Linked DNA regions of Homo sapiens: all the other regions are linked to region 6. Evidence: promoter capture Hi-C in 16 types of primary human blood cells and fetal thymus (Javierre and others, 2016). All regions are on one chromosome and are shown on one strand. The core of a region is centred on a gene start or on the middle of the fragment in contact, and the rest is flanking DNA. Distances in the headings are between cores, read along the strand shown.

Region 1 (2,700 bases), core at 174-2,673, 4.6 Mb before region 6:
CAAGTGATCTTCTTGCCTTGGCCTCCCAAAGTATTGGGATTACAGGTACGAGCCACCATGCCCAGCCGACCCCATGTCGCTCTCTCTTTTTTAATTAATTTATGTTTGAGATGGAGTTTCGCTCTTGTTGCCCAGGCTGGAGTGCAATGGCACGATCTCAGCTCACTGCAACCTCCGCCTCCAGGGTTCAAGTGATTGTCCTTGCCTCAGTCTCCCAAGTAGCTGGGATTACAGGCTCCTGCCACCATGCCCGGCTAATTTTTTGTATTTTTAGTAGAGACAGAGTTTCACCATGTTGCCCAGGCTGGTCTCGAATTCCTAACCTCAGGTGATCTGCCCGCCTCAGCCTCCCAAAGTGCTGGGATTACAGGTGTGAGCCACCACATCCGACCTCTTTTTTTTTTTTTAAGAGACAGGGTCTCGCTCTGTTGCCCAGGTTGGAGTGTAGTGGCATGATCACAGCTCACTGCAGCCTTAACCTCCCAGGCTCAAGCAATTCTTCTGCCTCAGCCTCCCGAGTAGCTGGGACTACAGGGATGTACCACCATGCCTAATTTTTGGTAGAGATGGGGTCTCACTTTGTTCCCCAGGCTGGTCTCAACTTCCTGGACTCAAGTGATCCTCCCGCCTCAGCCTTCCAAAGTGCTGGGATTACAGACATAAGCCACTACGCCCAGTTGACACCATGTCTTAAAAAAAAAAAAAAAAAAAAAAACGTAAGGGAACCAGTTCAATAAAATGTCACCCTTGAATTCCCTGGGCTTCAGATATCCTCATCTGTAAAATGGGGATAGTAACAGGACCCACAACCTTCAGTTATTATGATTAAATTGACTGGGTACAGTGGCTCACGCCTGTAATCCTAGCACTTAGGGAGGCCGAGGCGGGCGAATCACTTGAGCTCAGGAGTTTGAGACCAGCCTGGCCAACATGGTGAAACCCCGTCTCTACCAAAAATAGAAAAATTATCCGGGCGTGGTGGCAAATGTCTGTGGTCCCAGCTCCCGGGAGGCTGAGGTAGGAGGACTGCTTGAGCCCAGGTGGCAGAGATTGCAGTGAGCCAAGATCGTGTCACTGCACTCCAGCCTGGGTGACAGAGTGAAACCCCATCTCAAAAAAAAAAAAAAGATTAAATAGATTAATATATGTATAAAATACCTTGAACAGTACCCAGCACATTGTCTCATAAATATTAGTTGTTCTTGTTAAGGTTACATGTTTGTGCAGTGAAATAGAGTTTACTCTTTATCAATCATGTTACAAAAGAGTATTTAATATGAAAAGACACTGATAAGCTTGTTACAGGGACAAGGGAGATGCTGAGTCAACACAATACAGTGTGATCTTTCGGTGACTTTAAAACATTGTTGAATTGATTGTATTTGTTATAAAAATAATGTGGAAAATAACAGCTTTGAATTTTATGTCAGTTGATGTTAAGATCCAACAGGAAGTTTACCCTGATAACGTTAAGATGAACAGTTTGAAAGCAGCTTCCTGCTGGAAGTTGAAATAGAGATGATTCAGATAGCCTCTTTGGATCCAAACCCCAAAGCTTCTTTTGCCTAATTCTATCTTCTGTCTTTAGAAACTCAAGCCTCGACTGGGCTCGGTGGCTCACGCCTGTAATCCCAGCACTTTGGGAGGCCGAGGCGGGCGGATCATGAGGTCAGGAGATTGAGACCATCTTGGTTAACACGGTGAAACCCCCTCTCTACTAAAAACACAAAAATTTAGCCAGGCGTGGTGTCGGACGCCTGTAGTCCCAGCTACTTGGGAGGCTGAGGCAGGAGAATGGCGTGAACCCAGGAGGCGGAGCTTGCAATGAGCCGAGATCGCGCCACTGGACTCCAGCCTGGGCGACAGAGCGAGACTCCCGTCTCAAAAAGAAAAAAAAAAAAAAAAAAGAAAGAAACTCAAGCCTCAAGCTGTCTGGGGGCATCCAAGTCCAACCATCCCAGTCACACACACACAACCGACCTTACTCATCCCAGGGGTGTGCAGAGGCCCACTGCAAGAACTGGTGAACTTTCAAGGCGTCTTTGCATATATGATGATTTTTTATTCTATTATTCAAGTTTTGCTTGGACAAGATTGTGCTGCTAAAAAGTGGCCTACACCACTTTTTTTGTTTTTGTTTTTGAGACAGGGTTTCACTCCCGTCGCCCAGGCTAGAGTGCAGTGGCGCGATCTCAGCTCACTACAACCTCCGCGTCCTGGGCTCAAGCAATCCTCCTGCCACAACCTCCCGAGTAGCTGGGACTACAAGCGCCCGCCACCATACCCGGCTAATTTTTGTATTTTTAGTAGAGACGGGGTTTCACCATGTTGGCCAGGCTGGTCTTGAACTCCTGGCCTCAAGTGATCCACCTGCCTCGGCCTCCCTAAGTGCTGGGATTACAGGCGTGAGCCACCGCGCCCGGCCCTACACCACTTTTTAAAAGTCGTGTTTCTTCTCTTTTTTATAATGTTGTACTTCTGATTTCTAGGGAATGATTAGCAAACTCACCCCTGACGCTATGTCCCTTGGACATTATCCTTGTATACACAAAAAGTGCAATTAACGAGTGGGTAGAAGTCAAGGGGTGGAGCCTCCGTCCTTGGGCTTGAAGCCAATGTCCCTCAATGCGCCTGCGAGACTCCCACGCCCTGGGAAGGATGCCTATCGATTCGCTCTGGGCTCGGCAGTTCTTTCTGATA
Region 2 (2,808 bases), core at 42-2,541, 4.3 Mb before region 6:
TGGGAGGCTGAGACAGGAGAATCGCTTGAACTCGGGAGGTGGAGGTTGCAGTGAGCCGAGATGGCACCATTGCACCCCAGCCAGCCTGGGCAACAGAGCAAGACTATGTCTCAAAAACAAAAACAAAAACAAAACAAAAAACAAAAAAACAAAGGCAGAAAGAGAAAGGAGCTGGAGTTTGGATACCAGCAAAGCCTAGTGTAGAGGCAACAGGGAAGGCCCCCACGAGCCACAGCATGGAGGACATACCTTGCAGCCCATCCACAGAATATCCTGGTTTGTCTCTAAACATGAAAGAGACCTGAATAGGCCCCTCGCACTGCAGGGTTTGGGTCCTGGGGCAGTCAAACTGGCATCCAGGCTTGGATCTAGAGGCTGGACTGCTAGCCACCCACTGGCTTTGTCATCAGCAGCCTGAGGAGTTTGGGCTCTGGCCCTTCTCTTTCTCCTTTTGGGGAGAAAATGTTGCTCAGGAAGGGCTAGTAGGGGTGGGGGGTAGGGGATAGCTCAGCCATAGATAAGTTTAAGCTCCAACAATGCCCTGGCCTGAGGAGATTGTGAACCTTGCAAACTCATCGCTGAGCCTATGGGAAAATCCCTCCATATCTTTGAGCCTCCACAAAAAGGCTGAGTAAAGCTCCCTAACACCAGAGGATCCCAGGAGCTGAGGCAAGATTCTGTAACCTAGTGGTCTAAGGGCCCAAGTGAAGTTGGAGCAGGCTGTGGAACCCAACTGACTTAGGTTCCAATCTAGCTCCACCAATTATTAGCCATGTGATGATGAACTGCTCTGAGCCACAGTTTTCCAATCTGTGAATGGGGATACCAAGCCTCCCAATAATAGGGATGCTGGGCAGACTCAAATATTACAGGGCTTTGCCCAGTAAGAGACCACTTAATGAGTTCCCTTCCCTTCCCCAGGAGGGAAAAAAGCCTCTCTAGTAGGCTGATTAATAGCCACGCAAAGATATCAAACCCTAACCCCCCTGGAACTTGTAAATGTTACCTTATAATGAAAAAGGTAGGGCCAGGCGTCGTGGCTCATGCCTGCAATCCCAGCACTTTGGGAGGCTAAGGCAGGCAGATCGCTTTGAGCTCAAGAGTTCAAGACTAGCCTGGGCAACATGGTGAAATCTCATCTCTACAAAAAATACAGGCCAGGTACGGTGATTCACGCCTGTAATCGCGGCACTCTGGGAGGCCGAGGCGGGTGGATCACCTGAGGTCAGGAGTTCGAGACCAGCCTGGCCAACATGGTGAAACCCTATCTCTACTAAAAATACAAAAATTAGCTGGTCATGGTAGCAGGCGCCTGTAATCCCAACTACTCAGGAGGCTGAGGCAGGAGAATCGCTGGAACCTGGGAGGCGAAGGTTGCAGTGAGCCGAGATAGCACCACTGCACTCCAGCCTGGGTGACACAGCGAGACTCCATCTCAAAAACAAATAAATAAACACCAAAAATTAACCGGGCATGGTGGCTCGCACCTGTGGTCCCAGCTACTCAGGAGGCTGAGGCTGGAGGATCACTTGAGTCCAGGAAGTGGAGGGTGCAGTGAGCCAAGATTACGCCACTGCACTCCAGCCTGGGTGACAGAGGCCAGCACTGTCTGAAAAGAAAAGAAAAGCCCGGGCACAGTGGCTCATGCCTGTAATCCCAGCACTTTGGGAGGCCGAGGCGGGTGGATCAACTAAGGTCAGGAGTTTGAAACCAGCCTGGCCAACATGGCAAAACCCCATCTCTACTAAAAATACAAAAATTAGCCAGGTGTGGTGGTGGGCGCCTGCAATCCCAGCTACTCAGGAGGGTGAGGCAGGAGAATAGCTTGAACCCAGGAGGCGGAGGTTGCGGTGAGCCGAGACTGCGCCTGGGTGACAGAGTGAGATTCCACCTCAAAAAAAAAAAAAAAAAGAGAAGAGAAAAGAAAAAAAGTGTTTGCAGATGTAATTAACTTACATTATTAAATCTGGAGATGGGGGGTTATCTTAGAGTATCAGGTAGGACCTAAATGCAATCACAAGTGTCCTTATAAAAGAGAGACAGAGGGAAATTTGATACAGACAGAAAAGGAAACCACATATACAGAGAAGGCGATGGTGAAGATGGAGGCAGAGATTAGAATGATGCAGTCATAAACCAAGGAATGTTGGCAGCCACGAGAGGCTAGAGAAGGTCTAAATTCTCCCTGAGAGCTTCCAGAAGGAGTGTGGCCCTGCCAACACTTTGATTTGGATGCAGTGAAACTGATTGTGGACTTCTGGCCTCCAGAATTGTGACAGAATAAACTTCTCTCTCTCTTTTTTTTTTTTTTTTTTTTTTTGAGATGGAGTCTCGCTCTGTCACCCAGGCTGGAGTGCAGTGGCGCAATCTCAGCTTACTGCAACCCCCACCTCACTGCAACCTCCAATCCGTCTCCTGGGTTCAAGCAATTCTCTGCCTCAGCCTCCCGAGTAGCTGGGATTACAGGCACCCACCACCACACCCAGCTAATTTTTATATTTTTAGTAGAGATGGGGTTTTACTATCTTGGCCAGGCTGGTCTTGAACTCCTGACCTCGTGATCCACCCGCCTCGGCCTCCCAAAGTGCTGGGATTACAGGGGTGAGCCACCGCACCCGGCCAACTTCTGTTGTTTTAAACCACCCAGTCTGTGGTAACATTTGTCACAACAGCCACAGGAAACTAACACACCCCCCTTGGTAGCACTCCTTGGTGTCTGTTCCCTAGTGCCTCACAGGTGTGAGACAATATGGCATGGATCCCGCTCTGCAAGGTCCACCTGCCTACCATCCTCCAGGGTGGGAGGTT
Region 3 (2,700 bases), core at 11-2,510, 3.5 Mb after region 6:
AATGCCAGGTACACTTCCTTCAAGGGCTCAGAACCCCGGTGGGGGAAACCCAGGCTTAGACATAGTCTAAGCACATCCTCGCTGATCTCTGTTCCTGGCAGAAGGCAGGTGTCCGTGCATCCTGTTGTGTTCAGAAACAACTTCCACTAGATGGCAATGTGGCTCCACAAACAGCAGTCTTGTCTTTCCCTTCCCCCATTTTCTTTCCCTCTTTCTGTTTTTGGTGCCAAAAACCAAAACAAACACCAAAAAAAAAAAAAAAAAAAAGAAACTGGCCTAGGAGCACCCATCTCACCTACAGCAGGGCTTCCCATCTATGTGGTCACTTTGGGGGAACCGGCAACAGTAGGATGGGGTAGGGGTGGGGGCCACAGGGAGCAGGGCAGCTTCCTGGCCCAACAGGCCTCTGTGCCCACGCGGTGCAGACCCGGGCTTGAGGGGCTGATGCTTTCTCCTGGCTGGTGGCTCTTCCTCTGTGAGGCCACAAGAGGCCACTCATAGTGCTGCCAGCTGTCCATCTGAGGCACTTTGCATTGCAGTTCGCTGTCAATCTCATTGCTCACTGATTCTTTGTGTACTTTTGGAGTTTTTCTCCCTTCACTTTTTTCTTCTTCATTCTCTTTACTTTTTCTCCACTTCTGCTCCAGGAGCAGACTGGAAGGCAGGGTCAGCTGGGCGCGGGGACACCGTTAGGGAAAACAGGCTTACTTTTCCTAAGGAAATTAGTAGGACTCTAGCTGACCCCTGCGAGGAGAAATTGGCGTTTCCCTCTCCTTTCTGCCCTGTCTCCATATTGCAGTGGGTGGCTGATTATCTCTTTTCCCTGGTGTCCAATTCCTCCCCGTTTTTCATCTTATTCTTTTTTGGGCGGTCCTTCCCTGCCTTGGCCTTGTAGCCTTGGGGCTTGGTAGCCCCTTGCAGTCAGCTGATGACATCTTCAGGGCAAGGTTCAGCCAGCACCTGTGTTCTCTGTAGCTTCTGCAGGCCTACTTGTGGATCAAAGCTTTTGATCTTACTCAGGAAATACCCCATCAACAAGACGCTTCCTGGTTGTGTGTCCTTTAAGCCGGATGTCAGAAGTGGCTCCGTGCCCCTCGTTGTATGTCACCACGCGTTGAGGCCCTCCTAAACTAGATCCTTCGGGACAGCTACAGTGGCATGGACCTCTCACTTCCTGTTCTCCTTCTGATTCTTCTTCCTCTTCCTCCTCCTACCCCTCTTCTTTAATTCTTCTCCTTCTCCTCCTTCTCCTCTTGCTCCTCCTCCTCCAACTCCTTCTTATCTTCCTACTCCTCCTTTTTCTTTTTCTTCTTTTTCCTCCTTCTACTCCTCCTCCCCCTCCCCCTGCACTTCCTTCTCCTTTGCCTCTTTTTCTTTTTTTGCTTTTGCTTCTGCTTCTGATTCTGCTTCTGTTTTTCCTTTCACTTGCGGATCTGGGTGGGCACGTGTTCTAGCAGACTGCTTCTTCTTTTGCTCCTTGGTGATGTGGGATGTCCCTCTGCAGAATTAGGCCTGGAGAAAGCTTCACATTCGTTCTTTAAGGAGCACAGATGAAGGTCATGAGTTTAGTCCCTCTGGTCCACCAAAAGGCTACCCACGTGTTACTTTTAAGTGAAATGTCATGGTGAACGCACCCTTTACCCAATACCTCATGGCTCATTGTTATTTCCCATTCTCCTTCTGGATGCTGTAAGTGTAATCCTGAGCCAGTAGGAGCCTTGGCAAGTTGTTTCCTAACTCCTTTTTTTCCAGTCAAGCCATGTGAACACATCAATCTGAATTTCAGTGTGTGCAGGCAGGGTGTCTCTGCCACGTGTTCATTTGCTCACATTTCAGTGTGTGCAGGCAGGGTGTCTCTGCCACGTGTTCATTTGCCCACTCTCACTCACACAGGGAGGCACACACAGACACACATGCAGGCACTTACAAGAGACCCCCAGAAGAAGAAATAAAATCACAAACACACACACAGAGATACATGCACACCCAGACAAAAACACGCTTACACATACCCACACAAACACACACATACACACACATAAAGTAAGCTCACAAAATCAAAGGGGTAGGGGCCCAAGCATTATGGGACACAAACACACATCGCCACAGGCATGCGACTGCCCACATTCTCTTCGACAGGGGTTCGAAATATGCAAAGGGGAAAGGGAGACAGAGGAGCATTCCTGCCTCCAGGCCTGAGTCATTATGCCATTTATTGGGCAACTAGGGCCTTCTCCTGAGAATGAATTCGGGAAGTCTGTTATCAGATAGGCTCAAGCAGCAGGCATGAAACTGGAGCATCCTGGGTCAAGCTGCTTAAAAAGGGCCCCCAAGCCTTGTCCCTGTGTGATGCCATGAGAAGCTGTGGTACTTGGTGGCCTTCCCCAGCCTCTCTGAGCCACCCTCCTCCCAACCCTACCTCTGTGAAAGCCGAGACAGCCTGAGCAGAGTCAGTCTTGAGTGAGTTGCTGAATGTCCCCGCTGAGGGAGACTCCTGCCTCAGGCCCTGTGGCTGCCTGTTGAGCTGTCTATCCGTTCTTCGGACCTCCATGTGCCATCCCAAGGTGGTAAACTCTAACTGCAACTCCAGGCTTTGGGAGGACCCCCAATTCTCCAGCAAAACCTTGTGTAAGCCAGCTGGGTGGCCACTGCCTTGTACTTGGGCGGCAGCCCTGTGATCCCAGTCCTTCTGCCGTTTTC
Region 4 (2,700 bases), core at 63-2,562, 3.6 Mb after region 6:
AAGGGACCACACCTTGGGTAGAGGCAGACAGTCCCCTTGGGACCCTTGGCCCTCTGTGATGCCATGGGAATCTGTGTTGCGTGGTGGCCTTCCCCAGTTCCCCTAAGCCACCCTCATGTCACCCCTCCCCCCCACCCCATGTGAAAGCCAGGACAGCCTGCACAGAGTCAGACTTCAGTCAGTTGCTGAGTATCCCCTCTGAGGGAGATTCCTGCCACACGCCCTGTGACTGCCTGTTGAGCTGTTCGCTCATTTTGGTGACCTCCATGTGCCAGCCCAAGGTGGTAAACTCTATCTGGAGCTCCAGGCTTTGGGAGAACCACCAGTCCTGCAGCAAAACCTTGGGTAATTCAGCTGGGTGACCAGCACCTTGTCCTGGGGCGGCAGCCCCATGATCCCAGTCTTCCTGTGGTTTCCCAGTGGCCATGATTATGTATCATTTGTCTTCTATTTTTCTGCATGAGCATGAGCCATGAAACCTGGAGAGGGCCAAAGGAAAAGCAAAGGCTGGCGGCATAAAGAGGATTTCCGCAGTGTCTCCTGCCTACTGGTCCTAGGTCGTAGGGTCCCTTAAGTTTGGTGGTCAACCTGAGACCAGGTGGCTGGCTCCTTTTTATCCTCCCTGTCTTTTTTTTGTTTCTCTTTCCCTTTTCTTTTTTTCACATTGGAAAGGGTGGAGGCCGTCGGATTGGAGGGGCAGGGTTAAGCTTGTAGTTGGCCTTTGTAGAGCCATAGTGCCATCGAGCGGAATCTGTTTCTGGAAACTGGAGGCAGCTGGGCATGAGTGCTGGAGAAATCCCAGGAGCACGAAAGAGATGGTGGCGGTGTGGGGCCCCCAGGCTGAAGCTGGACGAGAGAGGAACTCCTGGCTGGCCCTTTGCCCTTGCTCATTACCAGGATGGCACCCGGGCTCCACAGCCCTCTCCGAAAAAAGGGCAGGAAGGGGCGGCCCTCCATGGGTTCCCCTGGCCATCTCCAGGAATTGCCGGGCAGGAGTCGTCCCGCCCACAGCACCCCACAGCTCCTTGGTTCACTGGGAGGATAGGGGACCTCTGGCCCCAGCGTGATTCCAGGCAAGGGCACCCCAGAACTCCCCACAAAAGAGACCAGTGTAAACGACCCCAGTCTCGGCCGTCAGTAGTCAGTGGCTTCCCTTAAGCCCACCTCAAGATGGCTGCCAGGGCACCTCCGCACTCTGGACTGACTGGTCTTGGGGCTGCCTGGCTGCTCTGTCCCTGGGCCTCTAGATTAGCTGCTTCTCCGTGGGGTCCAAATGGCAGGCACACTTCCTTCAAAGGTTTAAAACCGCGATGGGGGAAACTCTGGCTTAGTCAGAGTCCACCCAGCCCGACATATTCTCGCTGAAGTCTGTGCCTGTCAGAAGGCAAGTATCCCTGCAGCCGGTCGTGTTCAGAAACAACTGCCGCTGGATGGCAGTGTGGCTCCAGAAATGGCAGTCACTTATTTCCCTTGCTTTTCTCTTTCTCCTTTTGCTTCCAACAAAACAAAACAAAACAAAAAGAAAAGAAAGAAAGAAAGAAACCGGCCAAGGAGCGCTCACCTCATCTACAGCAGGACTCCCCACCTACATGGTCTCTTTGGGGAAACCTGCAACATGCGAAAGGCTCTCTGCCTCCCTCCTTCCCTCTGGATTCCTCTCTGGGCAGGGGTCCCAGTGAGCCAGAGGAGCCTATCCTCAAGAAATCCCACCCTTGGGGCTGTGGCATGGTGGGGATAGGTCGCACTGGGGGCAATGTGAAGGGGTATGGGGGAGGGGTGTGTGAGTGCATGGGCCTGCTTGTAGGCCACTGCTGATTACTTCTCTGAATTTGCACAAGCCTCCTAAGGAGACCAGGCTGCCTGCTTGTGAGCACTACGCTTGTAAATAGGGAACACACTGTTTCTTGGGGAAGGGACAAAAGCTTGGATCAAAAGCACCCAGGTCCAACAGGCATCCATAGATTGTTGACCCTTCTAGCAGAAGAAGGTCGGGCCAGGTGTCTGTCAGGATGAGACTCGACAGATTGGACACCTGTCCCAGGCCTTCAGCTACTTTTCTCACTGGAGCCCAGGCACTCATCCATGCCCAAGAGTAGGAGGGGTATTCTGGGTGGCTTCCACAGGCGGCTCTCCTAGAGAAAGCCACTTGGCATAGCTGATGGAGCATGTGTGCTCACTGAATGTGATGGCTCACCAGTTAATTCCCCGGGCATCTTAGTCATTCTGCCAAATACATGGGTAGCCAGGCCCCAGCCATGCTCACTTTCGCCTGGGCCTCCTCTGTGTTCCTGTGCTGGGCATGGAAGTGAAGGTTGAGGCTGGCGTGTCTTTGCAGATGGTGAGGTGGCTGTTCCTTGGTTTGATACCGAGCACTCTGGGCTCCTCAAGCTGAATTCTATTGCTTGTCAGATTATTCAGCCTGGAAAATGGATGAGACAGTGGAGGACAAATTGTGCCACCCCTTTTGGGTCTCCAGGCAGAAATGGGAAAGCCATGCATGGGTCCTTCATACAGAACACTTGTTGAGATGCAAAGCTGTGGCCTCATTGCTCTAAAGGTTGCATGTCTTACCCATGCCTCTCAGTGACTGGAGAGCAGCATGGAACACAACCATCTCAGAATATTGCAAATGTTTTCTTTCTTCGCTTGTTACAAGTCTTCCTGGATGTGTAGGCTGCACTGGGAACGTGCAGAGCTTTA
Region 5 (2,816 bases), core at 214-2,713, 4.2 Mb before region 6:
GGATCTGTCTTCCTTCCTCTCCTCACCCTCAGATGGAGCCCTAAAACCACCCAGGAAGTTGGGAAGAGGAAGCTCGGGCGAGCCACTGAGCTCAGCACAATCCCAGGCACAAAGGAGGCAAAGACCCCCCCCCACCCAGGGCTCACACACCCATTGCACAGAAGTTGGAAGAGATGGGCACTGGGGTGAGCAGGGAGGGCTGGGGCTCCAAAGCCCATTGATGAAAGTAAGGATGAGAAGAGGCCAGAGGGGATCCACCCAGGCAGGGATGGTGCAATCTGTACTCGTTCCAGCTCTATGGACAGATTCAAGATTACCCCCAGGAGCTCGGAGATCGAAAAGAAGATAAAAAGAAAAGGGGTGTGGGGCTAGGGAGTGGGAAGGGCTGAGAGGCTAGAGCGAGTAGCAGCATGAACAAGAGCCTCCTCTGGGTTCCCAAACAAGGTCTGAGGCCTCTGAGCTAAGAGGTAACATCATCGCCCTCTGCCTGGCTGTCTATCTTCCATTCAGGCCCTTAACAGGTGTGGGAAGAGGGCTTTTCCACTATCCTTGGGATCTGCCCCAGCTGGGTAGGCGGGCAGAGGGGAAAGGATTATTCTGGTCAAGTCTTGCTGAATGTTGCTTCTCTTGTTCATTCACACGCACTCACAAGGCTGGTCCCAGGCAGCATATCTGAGATACCTCCAAATCCCTCCAGATTCATGTTATCCCCAAACACAGCAACCAGTCACTGAGAGGCACCAAGCTCCCAAGACAGCACTTCTGTCCCTCAGGACCCCTTCTCCCACACTGAGGGAAAAAAGATTCTAGGATTCCCTTAAAACCAGTGCCTCACCTGACAGTGTCCCCTCAAATTCATTCCCCTCATGTCCGACTGAAAATCCCCGAATTCAGCCTCTAATCAGAGACCCTGTCTACCAAGTTCAGCTATCTCAGACCAGTTTCTGGATACTCCAGAATAGGCCCCTCTAGACGCAGTCAAGGGCTCCCCAAACCTGACCCAGACCCCGCTTAATGCACTCCCACGACTCCTTTAATAAAGCCACAATCCAAGCAGGCCACTGCCGGATTCCTTAGGTGCCCCCCCAAGACGGGCGCCCCGACGTCCTCCAAGGCTAGGCCGAGGGCCTCCAATCCCAGTCCGGGGCCCCCACTGCCCCCGAGATCAGGCCCCTGGGAGCCCCAGTCGGCACTCCCAGCCCCAGGCGGCCCCGCACCTGAGCAGCTGAGCCGAGTCGGCCGGCCTGCGCTCCTCCAACAGCACGAACACGGCTCGAGGGCCCTCCGCGCTGGCCTCTACGCCATCCCGAGCTGGTTCGGCCGCATGAGACATGACGCCCGGCCCCGGGCGAGCCCTGCCAGGCCGGTCGGGCCTCGGCCCGGTCCCCCTAACAAAATAAGAGTCCCCCCTCCCCCCAGCTCGCCACCGCCGCCTCCTCCGCTAAGCCATGGAGCTAGCACTGCGCGGGCGGGCGGCGTCGGGGAGATGGGATGGGCTGTGAGTCATCCCCCGCCCAGAACGGACCGACGCCCCCCCTCAACCTAACCCCGGACGACCGCCCTCCTCCCCCTCGTCTTCTTCCCCCTCCTCCCTCCTCCCAGGGATGGGGAAACTCCACAGGAAGTGACCGCACTGGGGATGGATGGCCCGTCTGGCCACGACCCATTAGCGAGGCGGCCAATCGCTGAACGGCGATTCGAGGGCCCACCCTAAGCGACGCCTCCGACGCGGAGGAAAAACGCGATTCGGCCCGCCCTCATTCCGAGAAGCAGCACCCAGACCACGCCCTCAGGGGCAGCGACAAATAGGCGAGGGTTGATTTGGTTGAACCACGCCTCTATGTTTGCGTCGCTTTCGGAGCCACGCCCTCTCTTCTCAAATTATCCCTCTGCAAGGTAATATTAAGCCGCTCCTTGGGTCCTCTGCGCCTGCGCATCGATGGCCAGTCGGCGCACGGAGGGTCTCCTGGCCAAGCTTTTAGCTGCGGAACCGCGCCCTCTTTCGGCCAATATTTGTAATATCTGAGCCCTAGACCGCGCTCCAACCTCGATCTGGCTGTGCTCTCTCAGCCAAAGCCATAACTATGAGGCAGAGGCAGCTACATTCCCTGAAGGTGCGGGCCAGAAACCCCCCCCTTTCGCTGTCCGCAGTCCAGCCGCCCAGCTGGTCTTCCGGGAGTATTCCGCCTGTTCCATGCCATCGAGAGCGGTTGTACTATGTTCATTGCGCTGCGCAATATGTGCTTAATAAATTCTTGACGGGTGAATGAATCTGGTCCCTTCGGTGAATGACGACTTCTGGAATCACAAAGATCCAGGTTTGAATAGGGAAGGGGACCTCCCCTCTCCCAGCCTCAGCTTTCCTGGCCTGTTAAATGGGGGTCAAAATACCTGTCTGGCAGGGTTGTTCTGAGGATTAAAGATAATGTATGAAAAGTGCTAGCAGGTTGTTTGGCATACAAGAAGCTTCCCAAAATTAGTTGATTCACTCATTTGTTCACTTATTCAACATTCACTGAGCGCTTCTGTATGCCAGACGCATGCAAGCCGGCTCGCACAAGGCGGAGGGTCTCACTCATATATCCTCAGGTGCAAATAGCTCACAAAACACCCAGACCTACAGCCTTCCCTTCCTCTTTCCTGACATCCCAAGACCCCACCCTGAGTTGCGCCTCCAGGAATTTCACCGGGCTTTCATTTACCTTGGACCTTCCTGTATTGGCATCATTATTTCACAGGTCTGTCAGTTGCTTTCGTAAACTCATCCATACTCACACACAACCATCTCGTACAAGGGGGAAACCTCTACATAATAA
Region 6 (2,700 bases), core at 175-2,674:
CCCAAGAGTGCCCTATCCTCTGGGATCTCCTACATCCTGGACCAGAGGAGAGTAGAAATCTTCTGAGAAGGACTCACACCCCACCACCAAGCTGACCGGTCCAAACATCTCCATAGGAAGTCAAGTCTGCGGGATGATGTGCAGAAAAGGCCTTGACATTGCCTTCAACGAGGAAAAGAAGAGGACAATTCCCTGAACCCACCTCAAGGGAGACAGAGCAATCCCTGTGAGACTGATTTCCTGACTGGTCCAGCAGGCCAGGATATTATCATAGATGAATTGGCCTGGCAAGGTATGAGTAAATATGAGTCAACCTACATAGGAATAAACCAATGACCACATCAAACACCCTCACAGTCACAATAATTACCACTTATCTAGTGCGTACTACATACAGACGCTACCTAGTTTAATTCAATCCTCTAAATAACCATTTCTGGGATCCATTTCACGGGCTCAGAGAGATTACTTCTACTTTCCCAAGGTCACACAGCTGCTCAGCTTCAAAGTGGAGTTTTGAACTCAAGTCTGTCTCCCTTCAGGACTGCGATCTTTCTATTAATACTATACTATGCTGCCTGCCTTAAAGGAAGTGATGACAACAGATTGGAGAAACGTCTTATTTTTACAGCCTCGACCTAGGTGGCCCGGGCTAAGAGATGTGCGGGGTGCCTCTCTGTGAACTCCCTCCGGCCCACTAGGAATCCCTGTCTTAAACCCGGAGTGATTCTGAAGGGCCGGGGTGGGGGTGGATCTCTGACTCCAGGTCACCTGTGGGCCTCACACCACGAGAGGACCCCTGGCCCAACACCCTTTTTCCGATCCGCGCCGCAACCACAACGGTCCCAGCCACCCCCTCTCCCCACCTCGAGCTGCCCTCCGCCCCAGACTTCGCCGCTGGCTATCCTACTGCTTCATTCCGTCTCGCCGCCGGCGAAAACCGGCCCCGGGGCTTACCGCGGGTGGGCGGATCTTGCAAATGCCCGATTTCTCTGCGATGGGCCTGATTTTCGCGATGTAGCCAAGAGGGTCTCGGAACTCGGCCCAGCTAGGCTCGAACACCGGGCACTCCGGTGGCGGTAGGAAATCGTCGGACCCCGGCTCCATGGTGGGCCCGAGGTCTGGGCCAGGGATCGGGAGGCTTGGACCGCCCTTAAGGACTCATGGCGCCGCCGCTGTTTGAAGCCGAGGCAATGCTCGGAGGCTAGGCCCTAAGCGGGGCAGCCGCCGCCCGCCGAGGGCCTAAGGGGGCGTGTGGCCGTCGTGCTCTGAGAGTCTCAGGCTGACTCTACTGCTACCGCCTCTTCGTCCCGCTCCGTTTCTTCCAAACTGTGTGGTTGCCTCCCCACTACCGCAGCCTTCGCCACCACAGTTACCTCCCAAACGCCGCGGCCTTCAGCGCCGCCGCCGCCATCTTGGTTTGTCAGCGTCTCCCCTCCCCACACCACAACAAACCGGATCCTTCCGCGGGGTGTCCTTCCGAGCCTCGTATACGTTGCGTCACACCAAGCCCTAGGAAACCTTCATATAGTGGAGACCGAGCTAAATAGGCTGGTATGGGTTTCTATTTGGAAGGGGTTACTCAAAAGTACCACCCCGGACTGAGAGAAAATAGTTCATTGCAACGGCGGAGGAACAAGATTGTAATTAGTTTGCCGGATCGTCTTTCCGGATGGACCGGCGGTGCACGTTTAAAGGCCAGTGATGCGCATGCGCGTTATGGAGACCGGAAGAGGAGCTGGTGTCCGTGGGTGGTGGAGTCAAACCGGCACTCCCCCGCAGACCTCAACCAGGTCGCTAGCCCCGCACCAGTGTTCTCTGTCCCTTCTCCCTGGTCTTAACGGTATGGGCCGCGGAAGGCGGCTCTGGGAGCCTGATTGCAAAGGACCCCTTATGCTGGCCCGCGGGATGGGGGGAGATGTACTAGGCTCCAGCTCTAGACACTGACACCTCTGGGGCTTTGAAATAAGGAAGGCAGGAAGCTGCTCACTCCCCGGGGATTATGGATTTTTAGGATTCTGAGTCCCAAGTAAAGGAAGGAAATCTTTATTTCATCCAAGGTTACAGGTAGAGAGATGGGGTTTCGATTCTTACCCCCCAAAAGTCACTGGGAGTCAGCATTTTAATGAACGCTTTCAACTGTTCTGTATTCACTTTTACCATGTACACATTTGTGGCATATACTCCTACAAAATAAGCCTGTGTGTATGTATACTTTAACTATTGGATGTTTAGCAACGGCGTATTTATCCAGTGTCAACTGTGTAAAACACCTGTTTGCCCATTTGTGAGCCTACAGTGCACTTACCAAACATCCGTGTACTTTTATTGTATTTATTGTGTATAGCCCCTGTGCATTTGGTACCAACTGTATGTACATTTAGTCCTATCGTGTGCATGTTCCTTGAGCAGTTTCTGAATAGGTTCATTGCAACTACAGTACTTTGAATGAGTATCATCAAACCAGTACTTTGTACATATACATCAGGCATCTACTGATTGGAGGATCATCTGTGTCATTCATCAGCTGTGGACCTACTGCATATAGTTTGAACACCTACTGTGCAAATATTTGAGTACTTGCGTACATGCTGATTAAGTAATTTTGTTTTCCCCCATCAGACTATGAATTCCTTAAGGGCAGGGACCATGTGGCCTTATACATCCTTAGCACTTGGCATGTTAAGCAGTAAATGAATG
Region 7 (2,770 bases), core at 26-2,525, 4.3 Mb before region 6:
ACAAATTAATCAAAAATAAAGATCCAATGGCTCTATTTACATATAGCAAAGACAGCCCAGGCATCTTCCATGCACACACACACCCCGCCCCGATACAGTTAAGGGGTTAATAAGCTTTGGGGAGCGCAGGAGGCAGGTTCCACAGTTCATCAATCCCAAGACACCCCCATGAGGTAGGGGTGCCTCACACAGCCAGACGGATATCAAGAGTATGATTGGTAGCTTTTTCCTCTCCTAGACATCTCCAAAAATAAGCCTACATCTGGCAACTGACAGTGTCTTAAATACAATGAGATTCAGCCACTTCAAGGACCTCCATTTTTCCCACACCCTGGATCATTAATGATATGATTACACCACAAATCCCAAGTCCACTAAAAAAAACAAATGGCCCCTACCACACCTTCTGCCAGAAGGGCTGATGCAAAAATCTTAGCTCTTGTCCCTTTCTCCCTGGGGACTCACAAGAAGCCCATCTTCAAGGTATCAAGGAAGCTGGCCCAAGGCCACACAAAAGACGGAACTAGTAACATGATCCAGAGCGGTGGTAAGGGAGGAGAGAAGGCCTCAAACTATGGGCAACTGAACCCCACAGGTAGGCATCGGTCATTCCTGAAGAGCTGCGGGAGTTTTGTCCAGTGTGTCCTTATGGAGGTGGAGGGACTGCTGGGAGGGACTCTCCCAGACGAGAAACCTCCAGAAGAGGGCACAGGGTCGGGGAGGGAGCAGACAAAAAAAAGGCCTTGAATGACAATACCCCCAACCCTGCCTCCAAAGAGGTTAGAGGGAGCAGAGGCGGCAGCTCTAAAACCCCCTCCAGGGGAAGGGGGTCACCCTACCAGGAAGGGTTCACGTGACACCCAGCTCTAGTCCCACACCCCTCCAGAAGTCTCAGTGACCTGGGAGAAAAGACCATCTCCCAAACCCAGAGGAGCCAGGCCCCGGAGGGTGGCGACTTGGGTCCTGCAGATGCCCAACACCCTCCACCCCAGTCCCCCTCCCTTGTGTCCCCCCATTGCTGCCAGCCCTCACTTCACCAGCACTGACTTTGGCAGAAAGGGCTCCGTGATGAGGTCTCCACGGTGGGAAGACAGCTGCGGTGGTGGTGGCTGCCCGGGAGGCTGCTGGTGAACGCAGGGCCCGGAGGCGGAGGCAGAGGCAGAGGCTATGGCTTTGGCTGCACCTCGGGGAAGGCTGTAGAGGTAGACAGCACCAATGACGAGTCCAGCGCCAAGGGCAAATAATGGGTCCACGTGGAAGCCAAAGAGGCGAATGGAGGCAACAGTGGACAGCACAATGGACAGGGAGGTGGCAAAGCCCTTGAGGATATTGTCAGCGTACTTGACAACCACAGCCACCAGTAGCCCGCCGAAGGCCTGGTTGAGCACCACGCCCCAGACAGCAGGTGTGTACCCAAAAAAGAAACCACGGGTGGCCACGGCGGTACCCTCAGCCCACCAGAGCCCCACCAGGCCCAGTGCTGTGCCGAAGAGGCCCAGTTGCAGGTTGCGCAGCCACACGGAGCCTGAGCTGCCTTTGAGGATCTTCTCAAAGTAGACACCTGCGAAGCCGGAGGAGAGACAGGAGGCCACGACGGCTGCCAGGCCTGCCCCAGGGTTCTGATCCAGTGGCCGTGGGCCTCCCCCACCGGCTTGCTGTGCCTGGACAATGGCGACGCCAGTGAAGAGGAGCAGCAGGGAGGCCCACTGCAGCCGGGAAAGGCTGCGATTCAGCATGAGCACGGAGAACAGCGCTGTGGTCAGGATCTTCAGCTGGTATGTCACCTGCGAGTGGCACGTGGAAGGCACTGAGGGCTGACCCTGGCCCCCAACAGGTGCACATGGGGGGCAGCACCCACTGTGGGCCCCCAGGCACAATGGAGGGACAGGGTGGGGGGTATGACAGCAAAAACAGCAAAAGGAGCCAGCCACTGGCCATTGGCTGAGCTGCAGCAAAACAGTTCTGAAGTCTCTCCCAGCAAGTGCACAAAAGGATGGCTGTGCCAAGAAGTCCACATCCCAATCCCATTTCCTGGCTGTGTGACTGGGGACAAAGCACTTGCCCTGTCTGAGCCCTGGCATCATCATCTATAAAAGATGGCTGAGGTATGGAAGTATCTTTGTGATGAGGGACTTGATACAAATGAATCAATAGCCACAACAATGTCAGCAAATACTTACATAGTGCTTACAATATATCAGTGTGGTTCTAGGCACTGCACGTGAATTCATTCATTTAATTCTCACAACACCATTCTGAAGTGAGCACCACTGTAAGCCCCAATTTAAAGGTGAGAAAACTAAGGCACAGAGAGGTTAGGTGACGTGCCCCAAAATCACACAGCTGGAAGGTAGCAGAGCTGAGATTTGAACCCAGACAGCCTGGCCCCAGAATCCAGGCTCTTTAACCATTTCACAAAGCTGCCCACAAATAGCCTAAAGCTTATCTGTCACCAATCAAGGGCTCTTCACAGGTATTATTTCTTTTAAGTATCCTAGCATCTCAGTGAACAGGCATTACTATTTCCACCCCCAATTTTCACAGACGAGAAAAGGGAGGTTGAAGGAGTTCCAAGGACATTCTGAAGGTGACATAGCCCCTGTCCTCTGCAACACCCCCCCACCACGCTATTCCCATACTCCAGTCCCCAACCCAGTTAGTTCCTCTGGGGCCATGCTGGGCTTGGGGCTCACCTGGAAAGTGGCAGCTGGTAGGTTAGAGATGGCAACATACTGGAGGTTATTCTGCAAGGTGTAGATGAGAGAGGGCA

The links. The method cuts DNA at HindIII sites, captures the fragments that hold promoters and counts their contacts. A CHiCAGO score of 5 or more calls a contact.
Region 1: a contact is called between a fragment that was not itself captured here and the fragment with the promoter of KDM5C in region 6, in 1 of 17 cell types (naive CD8 T cells). The highest score is 6.7, in naive CD8 T cells.
Region 2: a fragment that was not itself captured here is called in contact with the fragment with the promoter of KDM5C in region 6 in 1 of 17 cell types (neutrophils); the score reaches 6.2 in neutrophils.
Region 3: a contact is called between a fragment that was not itself captured here and the fragment with the promoter of KDM5C in region 6, in 1 of 17 cell types (fetal thymus). The highest score is 8.3, in fetal thymus.
Region 4: a fragment that was not itself captured here is called in contact with the fragment with the promoter of KDM5C in region 6 in 1 of 17 cell types (fetal thymus); the score reaches 6.2 in fetal thymus.
Region 5: the fragment with the promoter of TFE3 here is called in contact with the fragment with the promoter of KDM5C in region 6 in 1 of 17 cell types (neutrophils); the score reaches 6.1 in neutrophils.
Region 7: a fragment that was not itself captured here is called in contact with the fragment with the promoter of KDM5C in region 6 in 1 of 17 cell types (neutrophils); the score reaches 6.2 in neutrophils.

What each region holds. Positions count from the first base shown.
Region 1 is chrX:48,594,802-48,597,501 of GRCh38, forward strand. It overlaps WDR13 (WD repeat domain 13), which reads left to right and starts at 2,691. Exons shown (of 10, transcript NM_001347217.2): 1 at 2,691-2,700. The HindIII fragment of the contact is 260 bases long and covers 1,294-1,553 here.
Region 2 is chrX:48,948,241-48,951,048 of GRCh38, forward strand. The region is part of intron 1 of OTUD5 (OTU deubiquitinase 5); the gene reads right to left. Among named protein-coding and RNA genes, the nearest start is that of OTUD5, 8.0 kb to the right of the region's middle. The HindIII fragment of the contact is 6,417 bases long and covers 1-2,808 here.
Region 3 is chrX:56,764,456-56,767,155 of GRCh38, forward strand. All of the region lies in intron 2 of NBDY (negative regulator of P-body association), which reads left to right. Among named protein-coding and RNA genes, the nearest start is that of NBDY, 37 kb to the left of the region's middle. RefSeq lists enhancers at 1-161, 2,645-2,700. The HindIII fragment of the contact is 519 bases long and covers 1,002-1,520 here.
Region 4 is chrX:56,802,304-56,805,003 of GRCh38, forward strand. All of the region lies in intron 2 of NBDY (negative regulator of P-body association), which reads left to right. Among named protein-coding and RNA genes, the nearest start is that of NBDY, 74 kb to the left of the region's middle. RefSeq lists an enhancer at 1,140-1,279. The HindIII fragment of the contact is 1,215 bases long and covers 706-1,920 here.
Region 5 is chrX:49,041,894-49,044,709 of GRCh38, forward strand. It overlaps TFE3 (transcription factor binding to IGHM enhancer 3), which reads right to left and starts at 1,464. Exons shown (of 10, transcript NM_006521.6): 1 at 1,218-1,464. The coding sequence starts at 1,333. RefSeq lists an enhancer at 790-1,653 and a silencer at 1,195-1,434. The HindIII fragment of the contact is 3,845 bases long and covers 1-1,973 here.
Region 6 is chrX:53,223,783-53,226,482 of GRCh38, forward strand. KDM5C (lysine demethylase 5C) reads right to left here and starts at 1,425. Exons shown (of 26, transcript NM_004187.5): 1 at 958-1,425. The coding sequence starts at 1,107. It also overlaps a transcript of IQSEC2 not described here. RefSeq lists enhancers at 967-1,066, 1,307-1,686, 1,525-1,819, 1,697-1,746. The HindIII fragment of the contact is 15,929 bases long and covers 1-2,700 here.
Region 7 is chrX:48,903,699-48,906,468 of GRCh38, forward strand. SLC35A2 (solute carrier family 35 member A2) reads right to left here. Exons shown (of 5, transcript NM_005660.3): 3 at 2,694-2,770; 4 at 1,048-1,784. Among named protein-coding and RNA genes, the nearest start is that of SLC35A2, 6.6 kb to the right of the region's middle. The HindIII fragment of the contact is 2,327 bases long and covers 113-2,439 here.